Linked DNA regions of Homo sapiens: regions 2, 3, 4 and 5 are each linked to region 1. Evidence: promoter capture Hi-C in human tissues and cell types (Jung and others, 2019). All regions are on one chromosome and are shown on one strand. Each heading gives the region's core, a stretch centred on a gene start or on the middle of the fragment in contact. The rest is flanking DNA. Distances are from core to core; before and after follow the strand shown.

What was found. Contacts are between HindIII fragments. The study calls those that stand out against the background at their distance.
Region 2: a fragment that was not itself captured here is called in contact with the fragment with the promoter of ETV5 in region 1 in 2 of the 25 tissues and cell types used here (lymphoblastoid cells and small bowel).
Region 3: a contact is called between a fragment that was not itself captured here and the fragment with the promoter of ETV5 in region 1, in 3 of the 25 tissues and cell types used here (H1 embryonic stem cells, lymphoblastoid cells and spleen).
Region 4: a fragment that was not itself captured here is called in contact with the fragment with the promoter of ETV5 in region 1 in 3 of the 25 tissues and cell types used here (hippocampus, mesenchymal stem cells and spleen).
Region 5: a fragment that was not itself captured here is called in contact with the fragment with the promoter of ETV5 in region 1 in 1 of the 25 tissues and cell types used here (neural progenitor cells).

Annotation. Positions count from the first base shown.
Region 1 is chr3:186,107,637-186,110,447 of GRCh38, forward strand. ETV5 (ETS variant transcription factor 5) reads right to left here and starts at 1,453. Exons shown (of 13, transcript NM_004454.3): 1 at 1,304-1,453. RefSeq lists enhancers at 176-235, 994-1,972 and silencers at 1,006-1,105, 1,136-1,765. The HindIII fragment of the contact is 3,753 bases long and covers 123-2,811 here.
Region 2 is chr3:186,423,519-186,426,592 of GRCh38, forward strand. No RefSeq gene overlaps it. Among named protein-coding and RNA genes, the nearest start is that of LINC02020, 15 kb to the right of the region's middle. RefSeq lists a silencer at 1,412-1,501. The HindIII fragment of the contact is 6,433 bases long and covers 1-3,074 here.
Region 3 is chr3:186,534,868-186,537,719 of GRCh38, forward strand. No RefSeq gene overlaps it. Among named protein-coding and RNA genes, the nearest start is that of CRYGS, 8.1 kb to the right of the region's middle. The HindIII fragment of the contact is 5,360 bases long and covers 1-2,852 here.
Region 4 is chr3:186,364,361-186,367,421 of GRCh38, forward strand. No RefSeq gene overlaps it. Among named protein-coding and RNA genes, the nearest start is that of DGKG, 3.7 kb to the left of the region's middle. The HindIII fragment of the contact is 3,187 bases long and covers 1-3,061 here.
Region 5 is chr3:186,486,978-186,490,122 of GRCh38, forward strand. All of the region lies in intron 2 of LINC02052 (long intergenic non-protein coding RNA 2052), which reads right to left. Among named protein-coding and RNA genes, the nearest start is that of LINC02052, 5.1 kb to the right of the region's middle. The HindIII fragment of the contact is 3,693 bases long and covers 1-3,145 here.

The DNA of each region.
Region 1 (2,811 bases), core at 203-2,702:
CAGGAGTTTAAACCACTTCCTTTGCCCCCCCACCACCCGCGCCCCGGGCGCCCCCAGGAAAACTTTAGCACAGCGCAGCGGCGCGATCCAGGCCCCTCCCCTGTGGCGCGCAGCGGGCCCGGTTTTATGAATGGGAGAGCGAGCCGCGGCCGCCACATCAGGTAGAGGCTGTAACTGGATCTCTAGCGCTGGGCCCCATTCACAAAACAAGACACACTTCCACCCAATTCTCAGCCTTCCCCATTCATGAAAACTCCTTCAGCTGCGCCCCCGCCCCCATTTCCAACGCACGCCCAGCCTCCGACGCAGGCCCCTCACCCCAGCGTTTTAGGAAGAAAGCTCAATGCTTCATTCACAAAAAGGGAAGAAAAAAAAAAAAGCCGCAGGGAGCAGCGAGCCAACGAAAGAAACCCGCTTCATTCATAAAGTCACCCACATTCATAAAAACGAGGTGCGGCGCCCGGCGCTACCAACCGCTTCCAATCCCCCCACCCCCAACATCTCTCCCTGGCACCCCCTCGTCGACCAGGAGTTCGGTTCCCCCCCGAGTTTTCTCCACCCTCTGAAAATGCGGCCGGAACCCTAATCCGCTGCGAGGCTGCAGCATCTTTCGGTGCTGTCCCCTCCACACCCGTGTTATCCCCACCATCCCCAGGCCGCTGTTCCGGTGCGCCCCGATTTTCTCGAGTCGCCGCACAGCCGGACGCCCTCAGCCTGCTGGGTGGGAGCAGGGCGACTGGATGTCCACTTTCCACCACCTGAAACTTGCAAGGCCTGCGTAAGTTCCTGGTCGACCCCCGCCCCCGCAGGCTGCACTTGCCTGTGTCATTTACCCCCTCCCGGTGCTCTGGGGGGCAGCGCCTCTCAGACATTCCCCTCAAACTGCTTCCCGCCCCCTCCTCCCAACTGCGGAGCTCCGCCAAGCGTCTCTTCTCGCGAGCCTCCAAGTCCCCTCGGGGCTCTCGAATCTCCAGAGACTGTGAAAGCCTCGCAACTCCGCGATCCCCCATCCACTCGGGAGCCCCCGCACTCGCGCTCCGGGGCGCCTCCCCCACGACGTGTGGAAAGCCGCTCTCCCCGCGCTCCGGAACCGTTAGCCGCACCCGCCCGACGCCTCCCAGGAACCAAACCGGACCGGGCCGCGGGGGGAGGGGGCGGTCAACCCGGGGGGGGTCACCCCAGCTACTGCACCCCGACTTTGAAGATTCTGAATCAGCCCGTGAACTCTAGCCGGCTGGGCCTGTCGGACCAGTGGCCGGACGCCCCTTCCGATCTCCCCCCTGCCCCCGCAAAGCCCCCTCACCTGAGGCGGCCTCTCTCCTCCCCTTGCAGCGGCCCCGGCGGCGCAGGCGCGCTCACGCACGCGCGCAGCGGGCCTGGGCGCCTGGGCGAAAGGCTGGGCCGAACCGCTCCGAAGACGGTGAACCGCTCCGCGCACCAGCGGCTGGACTCTGCGCCGCAGCTGCCAACCAGGCTGGAGCGCTGGCCCGGCCCCCCGCGGCTCGCTGCTCCGCCCGCCGCCATTGGCCCGCGGCCCTAGCCCAGCCTTGTTCCCATTGGCCAGAGGCCGTTCCCGCGGCTGTCCATCACCTCTTGTTTACCCTGTCTGCGGGCAAATCCAACCAAGCCGCCCCATCAACTCCGGCCCCCATTGGCCAGCGGTGCATCTCTCTCCACCCCCTCAGGGGTCTGTTTTACATAATTTATGCACCGGGGGCCATTGGCCAATCAGCACAGGCTTGTTTATATAATGAATGTAAGGACGTTTTTCATTCATAAAAAACGCGACCTGAGGGGGAAGCTTAGCTGAGTCAGTGAAGCACTTAAAGGGGCCGAGGCCAGGAGGAGCCGCCGTTACTTCCCTTCTCGCCGCTCTCCCGACTTTTCACCGAGGCACGACTCTTCCCCCTTACCCACTCACCCCCACTTCTCCATCCAGCAAAGCCCCGACCAGAATTGGGTCTCTTGGCGCCAGACGTTCGCAGCTGCAGCACCAAGCAAAGTTATCATTTTAGAATTCAGGGGAGAGGAATTCGTCATTCCACACAAACTCGCTGACCGACCTGGGCGTTTAGCCCACAGAAACACAGAAAACGGAAACCGAGCCCTCTAATCTTAGTTACCTTTAAGAGAGGCCTTAATTTCTTTTAACCAGGTTTCCAGTGGGAAGAATAAGCAGCATCTCCTTTTAAAATCTCAGCTCTCAAACAGATTTTTGTTACTATTTTGTACTGGCAAGGCCTAAGACCCAACCAAATCCCGTTTTCTCTTTAACTGCGGCTCGTAACCTCCGCCAGAGTGGGTTCTGTAGTCGAGGTGAGACAGGGTTCGGGCTCAAAGAAATCCTCTCCGGGGACAGCAGCAGCCAGTCCACCGACCTGGAAACCTAAATCCCTCCGAAACGGGCATGCAGACTCAGACTTTTTGCCTCCCTCCCCGGGCTGCTTGTTTTCCATTTAAGTATTGAATGCAAGATGGTGTATTTGCGAATTAGATCCCGTGCAGCTGGGAACGACGAGAAGCGGCTCTGCTTGCCAAACGATAGGGCACTAACTGCAATTGCTGAGATTCTTAACAGGGTGTTCCAGGAAACAAATAAACAAACAATCCTCTCCCCTCTCCGCCCCCTTACCCCCTCCTGTGAAGGCCGTGGGGCGGCTCTATCTTCTCTCCGGGGATGCTGGGGGCCTGTGACGGAGCTCTGTTCTCGTCCTGCTGGAGTGCCCTGCCATTCACGCCGCGTGCCAGCGGTGGGGAGGAAAGATGCTAAGTGACAGGAGAGAGCCCCTAGCAATGGGGGTCCCACGGTGG
Region 2 (3,074 bases), core at 284-2,783, 320 kb after region 1:
AAAAACAGTAAAACAGGCTGGGCAACATCAATTACCCCTAATGGGATGTGGGTTACTTTGAATGAAATATGAATCAGAAACACTATCCTCTCATTATAAAAACCATGGGGGCCTCCAGACTAGGAAGCTGTGAGCCAAATCCTGGCTGCTGAATGTTAAGGAAGACACAATTGAGTTAAAGGATTTATGTCAGAGGGTAGAAATGCTGCCACATGATTCCAGGGTTTAAAAAAATGGGCCCAGTCTAGAAATTGAAAGGCTTGACATGGAATATGATCAGCTATAAAAGTGTTAACCTTCAGAAGAGAACAAACTGATGTTTGCAAAATGCCAGAAAATAAAGAAAGACCAGTGAAGCTTAAAAACACAATACTTTCTACAGCTATGAATTTCATTACCTCAAGAAGAGACCAAGAATGATAACTTGAACAATTTTCTATAAGAATTAGCTAATAACCTTTTGGGTTCGATTATCCACTGACTGAAAGGAATCAAATGTTTTCAGGGTAATATCATGGGAGGGCTGTTTGTCATCTTGGTCTCGAAACCAATAGCCAAACAAATTTTCTTTCACATTCAACAGATCATAAAAGGTAGTAAGTTTTATGCTGAGTTCTGGGGAATCTCATACTGTTGGAGCAGCTATCTAATGTCAAGTTTAGAATTTACATTAGGAGGAAACAGCTTTCTGCAGATTTACTTTTCCCAGGCCAACCATCTGACAAAAAGAACAATCAGCTCCCAAGGTGGTGCCTCCCCTTCCAACAGTGGTTCTGACTGTCTGTCCAGAGAAAGGAAATCCTAAATGACCTGTTCATCAGCTGGACATTCCTGTGCCAATCAGCCTTTTTACTCCACTGAAATATTTAGATAGTTACAACAAGCATATAAGTGAACGTTACAATCTCACGCAGAATCTAAAATAACGTCCTACGTCAGGCAACTAACAATAAAAGTAAAATTAGACTGATATGACCACACGAACAACAGAAGACACTGGATGCAAAGTTTGGTGGCATGATCACTTGAAACGTACAACAGAGGTAACCCAGTGCATATTTAGGTTCTTGTGAAGTAACTGTGATTAGCGGAATTAGGCTTAAGGAATGAGTGGCCAAAAACCAAGTGTTAAAATGAGTTATTTTGGGAATCCCTTTGAGAAAGCTCTGAGGGTCCCAGACGGGCATAAATATCCGGTGGTTGGGCCGGGCGTGGTGGCTCATGCCTGTAATCCCAGCACTCTGGGAGGCCGAGGTGGGTGGATCACCTGAGGTCAGGAGTTCAAGACAAGCCTGGCCAACATGGTGAAACCTCGCCTCTACTAAAAATACAAAAAAAAAAAAAAAAAAAAAAAATTAGCCGGGTGTGGTGGCACGAGCCTGTAGTCCCAACTATTCGGGAGGCTGAGGCAGGGGAATCGCTTGAACCCAGGATGCGGTGAGCCGAGATCGCGCCACTGCACTCCAGCCTGGGCAACAAGAGCGAAACTCCATCTCAAAACAAACAAAGATCAGGTGTTGGGCAGTGCTCGGTCAGTGGTGGCCATGGCTGCGCAGGAGGAGGCAGAGCTCAGTCTTTGGTGGGTCACGCCTCTGTGGTTCTGCTTGGCTGGTTTTCTGTAGTGCTATACCTGCATATACAGCTACAGCTGTCTTGAGAGCTGACTCCGTCTACTTTTTTTTCTCTGAAAAATGAAGTTACTGAAAGCAAAGTGTGTTTCTTGAGTGTGTTTTTATCCTTGACAAGTGTTAAGGATACGGAGTACATACAAAATAACAAACTGAGAGCTGCTATTACTGTCTATTTTAAGCCTCGGTAAGCTGCTTGAACTCCTAGAAAAGAGAAGGAAGAGACAGGGGGTTGGGGGAGGGGGGCATGATACAACCAGGTGCAACCTGGGGTCAACTAAAGAAGACACAAGGAGAATAGGCATGACTTTTAGGGCGAACTTCAGAGAGAAGAGAAAGGCTGCTCTCAACCTCTTTGAAGGAAAATTTATGCAAGACTCCCAACTTGCTCACAATCTGCATAAAGGCAGCAAACGAATTGAGTAAATTACCTTTGTCCTCACTCAAGGGATATCTAATAATAATCCCAAGCTTTATTCTTTGGTAGGGCAATACACACAGCCAAAACTGCCCCAGTTGTTAAAAATGATTAAGTATTTCTGTATTCCTTGGAAAAGAACTGCTATCTGAACCACCGGAATGCTACCAGCTATCCCATTTGCCCCAGCTCCTCAACTGGGACTCCCCAGACCTCTGCCCACTCCCGCCAGGGTGAATGCCTGGCCCCGAAGGTCACTGCTGCAGCTCTAGAATGTTCATTCTGACTGATTGGTGCCTGGACTACACTGATTGTGAAAGTATCCTATCTGTTCTCAGGCAATGGTCGTAAGCGACACTGCTGACTAAGCCAGAGAGTTATTAAAGTAACTTAGTGCAGGATGGCAAGGAAGTTGGGTAGAGATGGAAGAAGAGACTAGCTCAAGGTTGCCTGGGGATGGGGAGTGAGGGGCTGTTAGTGCTGAAGCCTCCTGGACTCACTACATGAAGAAGGATCCTCCTTGGTCCTGAATGGCATGGCAATACCCATTTACTGCCTCTAGGAGAAGCTGGGAGGAACAGATCACAGCTAAGAAGCAACAGGAACCCCAGAGGGGAAAAGTCTTACGTAAATATGCAAGAGGATTAAAAACAGAAAAAGAGAATATTAATCCAAACCACAAGTGTATTTTCAGACTGCCAAGGTCCTGAACTCCTGCGTCTTACGCACCTCAGTGTGAATGGTGCTTTTACCAAAGTAAGAGAGAATTTAACTCAACTGAGGGACTTATAAGGGAGGTTAAGGGAAAAGTTCCAGATGGGGTAGTATAAAAATGCAGAAAGAGCAAATAATTCCTTTAAAGAGTAAATGCCACCAAAGGCCCCAATTTAGCAAATGCCTGTGTATCCTCGGAACTCACTGCACTTACAAAATATCCCTTCGGGGCATGGCATGAAATTTGACCATGCAATAAGATTTCCTTCATTTGGCATATGTTTATTGTGTTTACATATTTGGTCTCAGAGCCA
Region 3 (2,852 bases), core at 142-2,641, 430 kb after region 1:
ACTAGGGGGTAGAAACAGGGATTTAAAAAGCTAGACAAGTTAAAACACACACACACACACACACACACACACACACACACACACAAAACTGATAATAGCAGTACTTTACTACTCAGAAACAGTACTAATATGACAACCATGGTGGTAAAGAACTGGTGACCCTCATTATAACATAGATTTCATACTTGCAAATTCACCCACTCCCTCCAATTTCATTGTAATCGCAAAATCACTAATCGTGGTGCTCTTGTGATCATTTATGGATATGAGCAGAGCAGTGAAAAATTTGAGTCATCCAATGAGTATATTCCCAGCTAAGGTCGAACAAATGCTCCCCCTTCTTGTTTCAGCTCCCATACTGTAAACAAGTCTCCTTTCAACCCATTTAGTGTCATGCTTTCCGCATTGCACTGTTCTTCGTTGGTAATTTCACTGTTGAAAACATCCCCAAATGTAGTGCTGAAGGGCTGTCTAGTGTTCCTAAGCATGAGAAGGCTGCGACGTGCCTTACTGAGATACCTGTTAGATCATCTTTCTTCAGGCAGCAGTTAGAGTGCTGCTGGTCCTGAGCTCCATGTTAATGAATCCACAACATATATTCAAGAGTCTTTAAAGAGAAACACATATGAAAAAAGTTTATGCATTGATCAGTTGACAAAAATGTGACCAGAGGCTTACAGGAACTTAACCTAGTATTTTATCTAAGAGCAATAATTCAATATTTGCAATTCAGTGTTTGAGGTATTTTTATGGAGTATAATTACAGAAAATAATGAGAATTAACTGTATATGCTACATATTTTTCACATATTATCTCATTTTAATGCCCACAGATTAGGTGTTATGTTAGTTTCACAGAAAATTGAGGATATACATGTTAGATTATGTGACTTAGAGCTAACATATGGAAGTGGCAGAATTTGAATCCATTTCTGTCTAACTACCCAAAGAGGAAGAGAACTCTTTAGCCCTTTGACTGGAGAGTTGGCTCTTAGGGAAAGGTAGCCAGTCATCCATATCAGGGCTGGGCCACAGGGAGAGCTGAGCTTAGTTAAGAACAGCATAGATCAGAGAAAAAAGATGAAAGAACTGAACATAATCCTCCAGCTGTAGTCTGCACTGGTCAGACTACATACAGCTATGACAGTGGGGAGAGAGAAATGACCATTAGCTCGAAGAGAGGCACCAGGATGGTGAGGAGTCTGGGAGCCCACACATGAGGAGAGAAAGGATGAAAGAAACAGGCATTGCTCAGTGTAGAAATGCCAGCATGGAAGCAAACTGGAGGCATCTTTAAATACCTAAAGAGCTATATCCTATGGATGAAAACTAGGATTGCAGGTTGAAAGCTTCAGGGATCAGATTTTGGCTCAATCTAAAAAACAATTTCTGATATTCAGAGCTGTCCTACAGCCAAGATTGGAAACTGGTGGTCCACAAGCCACATTCAGATGCAGATGTATTTTGTTGGTGTGTAGTGATTTAAAAAAAAAAAAAAGTATTTAAATGCCCTTCTATTGGGGAATGTGCTCATTTTCACAGCTTGCACCACTCTCTGCTCTTAGCCCCATGTCACTCCTGTGTAACTTGCCTTGTCCTTGAAGTAGGGTTGTCAGATTTAGCAAATAAAAATATAGGATACAGTTAAATTTGAATTTCAGACAAATGACAATTTCTTAGTGTAAGTATGTCCCATGTAACATTTGGGACATACTTATGTTTATTTTTCTATCCCAATAGACAGTGAGCTCCATATATGGGAATATTCAGAGACTTGTCTTAGAGAAATTCTTGTGATGGAAATAGGGTTAAAATGGTTTAAGGGTGCCCTTGCTTTATTTTATTGAGATCCCCCATTTCAGAGCGATAAAACAATAAAAGGTAGGGGGAGATAACTGAATTATCAGGTGCTGTTCTGGGTGTGGGTGACAGGTAAGACACCAGCTTCTTGTCCTAACAGCTGAATGTTCTACCAAAAGAGCTGGGACTGACTGATAGATAAGGATATAAAGTGTTTTTGACCTCTAATATCAATTGTTAGTCAAATTCCTTTTAAGCAGAAAGTTGATTGGTGTGTCTGCAACTGGAGAAAATGATAGCAATCTCTTTCTGGACCAAGGCATGAACCAGGAGGCATGCAACACTCCAAAATAATAATCCTGCTTTTATCTGTCAAAAGCCATCTTCTACTTCTCTGAAACTGTGGTTAGTCATCCTGACACTTCTTGTTTTCCTACCCTGCTGCCAGAACTGCTTTTCTAGTTGAACAGACTGTGACCAACTCACCAAAGAACATGGCAAGCAGTTGATATGAGAAAAGAGACTGATACTAACTTACTTATCACAGCCTATTTCTTTGGCAAAAAATCAGTGGATTTCTGAGGTCACTTCCAGAAATTATGCCTCTAAAAGTAAGTGTCAGTAGTCCTTGGTCATCAGCTAGTTTTTTAATGTCCTCCTGCTGGTGTCTGGGGAATTAGAATGTTTGTGTTGGATGAGACTCCAGAGAGCATTTGGCTCAACTCCCTTGTTTTGGAGATAAGGAAAGGTAGCTTCATGGTATGGTGGCAAGATCCAGAGCTGATGGCTGCAGTCAGCTCACAGGCCAGAGCTCTTTGCAGCTCAGCAAATGGCCTCCCATTCCTTCTCCATTTGTCAGGTTTCCCTCCCTTACTTACACCCACTTTTTTCAGTCTCTCACTTGAAACAGACAAAATGACAAAAGGGAGGGGAAGATAACAACATGAATAAACATATTTTGGGGTGAGTATGCACTGTGCACTATAGAGTATACACAAGGGAAATTTAGCAATTCTAATTTGTCCTTTTGGGGAAGGCTCCTAGATGACAGG
Region 4 (3,061 bases), core at 293-2,792, 260 kb after region 1:
TATTGTTCATCGGTTTGCTTGCAAATGGATTCCTTTAGGATCAGGATGGAGCCAAATGATGCATCTGAGTTGCTGCAGAAGGAGTTCAGAGAAGGCTGTGTGGACTGAGTTACATGCTAATAACATGGAGGAAAAGGGTGGTAGTAGAGGCTGAAGCAATGTGGAAGGCAAAGAGGGATGGGGCGGGAAGAAGCACCAAGAACAATTAGTGCTAATGGAGGCATCATGGAGGAGGTAGGGTTTGCGATCGGATTTTAAAGGGGAATAGAGATCTCACTTAAAGATCAACAGGACAAGGGCAATCTAGGCTGGGAGAAAGCAAAAGCAGAGACGTAGGACAATTCATGGTGAGTTCTGGGTCTTCCCAGCACAAGAAAAGAAGGCTGGGACAGTATTGTGGGAGTCTCCAAATGCTCTTCTGGGAGCATAGACTTGGGTTCCACAGTGAGGAGCTATGGCAGGTGTGGATTTTTTGTTGTTTGTTTTTGATGGGAAATGAGCTGGGAAGCAAGCTGGGAAGTATCTGATGCCAGCTTTCCCAAGGTAGGCCTTCCCCATCAGAATGGAGCACTGTGGGGAGGGAGTCCTTGTTGCTGCTCTCACGAAGAGCCAGAGCCCAGGTGGCTTATGTGGCTTGCTGCAGAGGGCACCCAGCTAAGGGGCTGAAATCCAACTCATGCCCCACTTGCCCAGCCACACAACCTGTTAGGGTTATGTCTGCCTGGAGGGAGGGATGCCTTTTCTCTAATTTGCATGGGCTGACAGAGGCCCTGCAACTGAGCTCTTTATTTGAAAAGGCTGAAGCTACGGTGAAACAAGTGAGGATTTATTGGGCATTTGCTGTATGTGCAAACATAAGGTAAAGCAGAAAGAGTCTTGAGGTCAGGACTATCTGTGAGTCTGAGCATGTCTCTGCTCTGTGGTGACACCCTGAGACTTACTGTAGGGTACAGAGGAGGAAGCTTAGTGCCTCTCCTCAAAGATTTTGCAATCCATGTCAGTTATAAAACAAACGCTCCACTGGTTAAGAAACAGTGAACGACAGTATGGAATCAAGTGCCAAATTGCACAGGGCAGATTCTCAGGGCTTGAGAAAGGAGACCTCCTCTGGGCTGAAAGAGTCAAGGCAGGCTTCATGGAGGAGGAGGGCTGGGTTTGGCAGTGGAGCATGTGTATGTTGGTTCTCAGCCAGAGAAAAGACCTGCGAACAAAAAGCCAGAGGAAACGAAGCTGGGGGCTTCTAAGCATGGATTTTTAGCCGCCACAGCCACCCTAATGCCATTCCCAATTGTAGCCCAAGCGCTGTGATGAGTCACCCTTGTTTCTGAGAGACGGGGCATTTTTGGATGTTTAACTGGTTCAACACTTTACATTCCCTGAGACTTCAATGTTGGCAGCTCACACTCACCATGTTGCTCTGGGAACACATCATCCAAGCCAGCAGCTGATGCCTGATCTCCACTGCCAAGGCAAAGCGAGGGCTGAGTCAGGTACCTGTGTCTGGAAATTTTTAGTCCCACTGTCTCTGACAAGCTGAGCGAACAGCACTTGACAGTTGGAGCACAGCTGAGTTCAGGGTCACCAACCGCAAGGTGGGCCGGGGGGGTTCTGCTCGCCTTCTTAGGCCTCACTTTTCCCATGTACAGAACACAAAGGATTATACCAGATTATCTCCAAGCTGTCTTCCACCTAATATTTTATGATCTCATAATTAATGGAATCTTTCCATGTTATCAAGCAATGACAGGATGGGAACAGATACTAGCCAAGTCCGAACCTTAACTTTCCTCTTGGTTTTGACTGTGAAGGCTGTGGTGGAGTGAGACTGTGGGTTGGAAACAGGAGAACCAGGAGCTCCTGGTCACAGTTTTGCCATGAATGGGATTTGGGATCCAGCCCTGGGAATGTAGGCAGGAGATTCCCTCATTTTAGTTTTCTTAGAAAATAAGGAGGCTGGAAATGGTCCCTACAACCCTTTCTGGCACTGATACTCTGTTAAGTACTAGCAACTGAACAACTTTTAAGTACCGCCCCCTTGCCTGGGTGGGGCCCTCCACAAGGCAAGCTGGGAAAATTCTCACAATATCAACTGATAAGCTTGAAGGAAAGCACAAAGGAGAAGCCATGGGGTTCAGAATAATAAATAGATAATTTAGAATTAGATGGAGTCAAAAGAGCTAATCTGAGTCTCTAAGCTCCAATTTCCTCTTCTGCAAAGTGGGGATAGTAATACATGCATCTCAAGGTAATGATTAAATGAAGAAGCTTATTTGAAAGTGTTTTAGAAGTGCTATGCAAAAATGTAAAATACAGTTATTGAAGATAGTCTGTTCCCTTAAGGTAGTCTATTTTTTAAAGCCTAGTTATTATACTACTTGCTAATGTGTCTGCTTCCTAAGAAACAGCAATTCAGGTCAGCAACTCTTTATACACCACATTAAAATATAGTAATATTTTAACATGAAAGATGCTGGTGGACTTCAGGACTACCAGAGTGCACATCTGCCCCCTGCCTGGAATTCTACAGTGTCACTGGAGTTGCCCACAGTGGATTTCCCAGGAACTTTGATTGTGTTTACTTGACAGTGAAGGAGACACCTACCCATCCAAGATCCTGCTTTGATGCTTGCCTATCCGGAGACAGATGGTGGAAAGAGGGGAAGGAGGCGTGAGTGAGTAGGGAGAAAAAAGGAGGCTTTCTTCTTTCTGTTATATTTTGGGCAAAGGATGTTAAACTTTATGCTTTAATGAGCTTGTAAAAAGGCTAATTTGGGTTCACTACATTACTCCAGGTCTGTTTTCTGCTATGTCTGGTCAAGAGACACCGCCGTGGAACTCTTCACTGTTGTCCCTGGAGGGGAAGCTTTTCACAGGAAACGCTGGGAAGAGCCACAGAGGGGAAAAGGTTCTAACTCCCTAAATGACCATTTGCTTCAAAGCCTGCCCAGCCCGCAAAACTTTTGAAAAGATCAGTCTAGTTTTAGAAATCCTGGTCACTTCTTTATCTCCTGTTAACCAATTTGGGGGGACAAAATGTCACAACATGTTAGCAATTGAGGGA
Region 5 (3,145 bases), core at 193-2,692, 380 kb after region 1:
ACTATAGCACACCCTTGTGGGTTATCAGATTCTGGTCTTGTTTATTGCCTTGGAGGTTTTGTTATTCACCTGTAACTGGATTCTGCTGTCATGCATATTTGACATTCTTTCATCCACATCTTCTACCATCTACACTGAGAAATAACCATGACTGTGGCCCTCATGTCTATGCCATCACCAAAGACATTCACACTGCAAACCAGGAAACCTGTCAGCTTGCCACTGCCGTCCTCACTCCACCGTCTAAAGATGTCTCGAGTCTAACGTGTAGCAATCTTGGCTGCCCTCTGGACTCAGAAACTGGGTTTATTGTCTGCTCCAACCACTCATCTTTGTACTGCTTTTTATTTTCATAGAAATTTCCCTCATTAAATATTCTCTCCTATCTAATCTCTACACATGCTTCAGATAGTCCTTAATGAATAAAGGCAACTGAACAAGCAACAGACTTATATTGTTCAGAGGAAAGAAAGATGTTCTTTCCTTGCACAAGAGGAAGGATGGACAAAAACTCTCAAAACTCTCTCCTTATTCAGACCTCAGTGAAGTGCCTCTGAGCTCTCTTCTCAACTAGGCCTCAACCTTGGGCCTCAGTTTCTGCAAGAATCCTGGTAAAGTGGTTTAGCTATAATCCCCCACTCTTTTCTCTGGACCCAACACGTCAGGCTGGAGGGGCACTCTTTGCCACTGGCCTCTGGAGATGCCAAGGCAGCAGGTCATTGGAATGAGAGGTAGCCCAGCTCATTGAAGCCTGAGTTTCCCTTGAGATTCCATCCCCTGCAGGAGGAGCCAGAATAGGGTGGATAAAATCAGATTAACGCAGATCACAGGGCTGTGCCTGCTTTGTGGAATTAAATACTTTCTCCAGATCTGTCACTCCCATTTGCGGGGTTAGGAGGAAGAGCCGTGGGGAGCCCTGGGACTCCTCTTTTCCCAGACTTTGTACTAACTGGTTGTATGACTTACAGGCAGGCCCTTTAGGCACAGAGTGTTGGGAAATATGATCTCTTAGATTCCTCCAAATCATTCTCCCTGGGGCTTTGTCGCCCCCCTGCTGCCTTCCTCACCAGCCTCATCAAAGGTTTGTACCATTTGTTGTTCCTCAGACTCATTCCCTGTGGCTCTCTCACCTACTGCTCCAGCTGGGCCCTTGCATGATGTGAAACCACATTTTATAAGGTGCAAAGTTTCTATAGTCAACCAGTTGGCAGGAGGGAGGCAGTTATTACATTTGTTTCCTCCTTCTCCTGCACTTTGCTCAAAATGCCTCTTTTAATTTTTTTTCTTCCCAGTTTTTCAGATTTTACTTAAAATTTGTTTGATTGTGGCTAAGCATGATGGCTCACGCCTGTAATCCCAGCACTTTGGGAGGCCGAGGCAGGTGGATCACTTGAGGTCAGGAATTTGAGACTAGCCTGGCTAACACTGTGAAACCCCGTCTCTACTAAAAATACAAAAAAATTAGCCGGGCATGGTGGCGGGCACCTGTAGTCCCAACTACTCGGGAGGCTGAGGCAGGAGAATGGCGTGAACCTGGGAGGTGGAGCTTGCAGTGAGCTGAGATCGTGCCACTGCACTCCAGCCTGGGTGACAGAGTGAGACTCCGTCTCAAAACAAAAAACAAAAAGAAAAGAAAAAAGAAATAAGTCTGCAAGTTTCTGTAGGTGGCAAGGAGATTTCTAGAAGAAAGGAATCGAGACTCTACTTCCTTTCTTTTGGGAGGCTCAATGTTTTAGAACTCATATAATAGGTTTCAGTTTTAAAAAGCTGATTGACTACAGTTGTTCTTTCTCTGCCCTACCAAAACCTTGCCAAAATGATAGTAAAGAATAAAAATGGGCACAAGGACAAGAAGAACAGGAGAGCAACAGCAGACAAGACATTTAGATGAGTTTTTGGAGGACAAATAGCAAACGAAGAAGTGGTTGCTGACTCAGTGGACAGGAGCAAAGTATAACTTAAGGGTCTGTCATAAAAAATTTGGCATGAAGAGGAACCCAGAGAAATCATGAGAGGTTTGGGATTTGGAGGCTCTGCTGAGAAAAGGGATGAGGCGTTGGTCTGAAAACAAGAGTCACTGGTTGAAAGTCTGCATAGAGTGTGTTGGGATCCCAGGTCCCCTCCTCATCCCACATAGCCAGGAAGCTGATACTTGAGTTTGTCCCTGTGAAAATGATGGCTCAGGGTTTGAAAACCCTAAAGAAAAGCCAATCAGCTAACAGCTCTATGCACACACTGCAGAGCTTCCTACAAGACTTTTAGTGCCTCACTCTTAACATGAATAGATAGCCAAGGATATGACATATGAGGAAAGCTTCCAACATAGGAGAGACAAAATATCCAGAAAAGAAAAAGGAATGTGGGGGGAAACAGACAATATAGGGAACATTAGAAATGATATTGCGGCCGGGCACAGTGGCTCATGCCTGTAATCCCAGCACTTTGGGAGGACGAGGTGGGCAGATCACAGGGTCAGGAGTTCAAGACCAGCCTGGCCAATATGGTGAAACCCTGTCTCTACTAAAAATACAAAAAAATTAGCCGGGTGTGGTGGCATGCTACTCGGGAGGCTGAGGCAGGAGAATCACTTGAACCCAGAAGGCAGAGGTTGCAGTGAGGCGAGATCATGCCACTGCACTCCAGCCTGGGCAACAGAACAAGACTCTCTCAAGAAAAAAAAAATAAAAAGGAAAAAAGAAATGATATTGCATCATAAAACAAGAACATGATACTATGAGAAAGAACTTTAAACCAGAAACAGTCTCTGGGGAAAAAATACATGAAAGTGATGTGGTAAAGCTTAGAGAAAATTCAGTAGATTGGAATAAGTTAGGGATGATGGAACATTTGGGGGGAAATAACACTGCAGAAAAGCACGCAAATGTGAAACATAAATTACAAGCCCTGGAAAAACTAAGGGCCATATAAGAATTAAAGCATAATATAGCCCACTTCTTGATTCAACCATGAAAAATATTTGTATAGCCAGAATGAAATATGGACTGTCAATTTAACCAAACATTGTGAAATAACTATATTTGGAAGATGCAAGAGACAAAATGAGAAGGAGCATTAGTATATGAAAACTAAGTCCTTATCTACCATGGTGGGAGGTTAGTAGAAAATGGCTAAAAATGATAGGTTA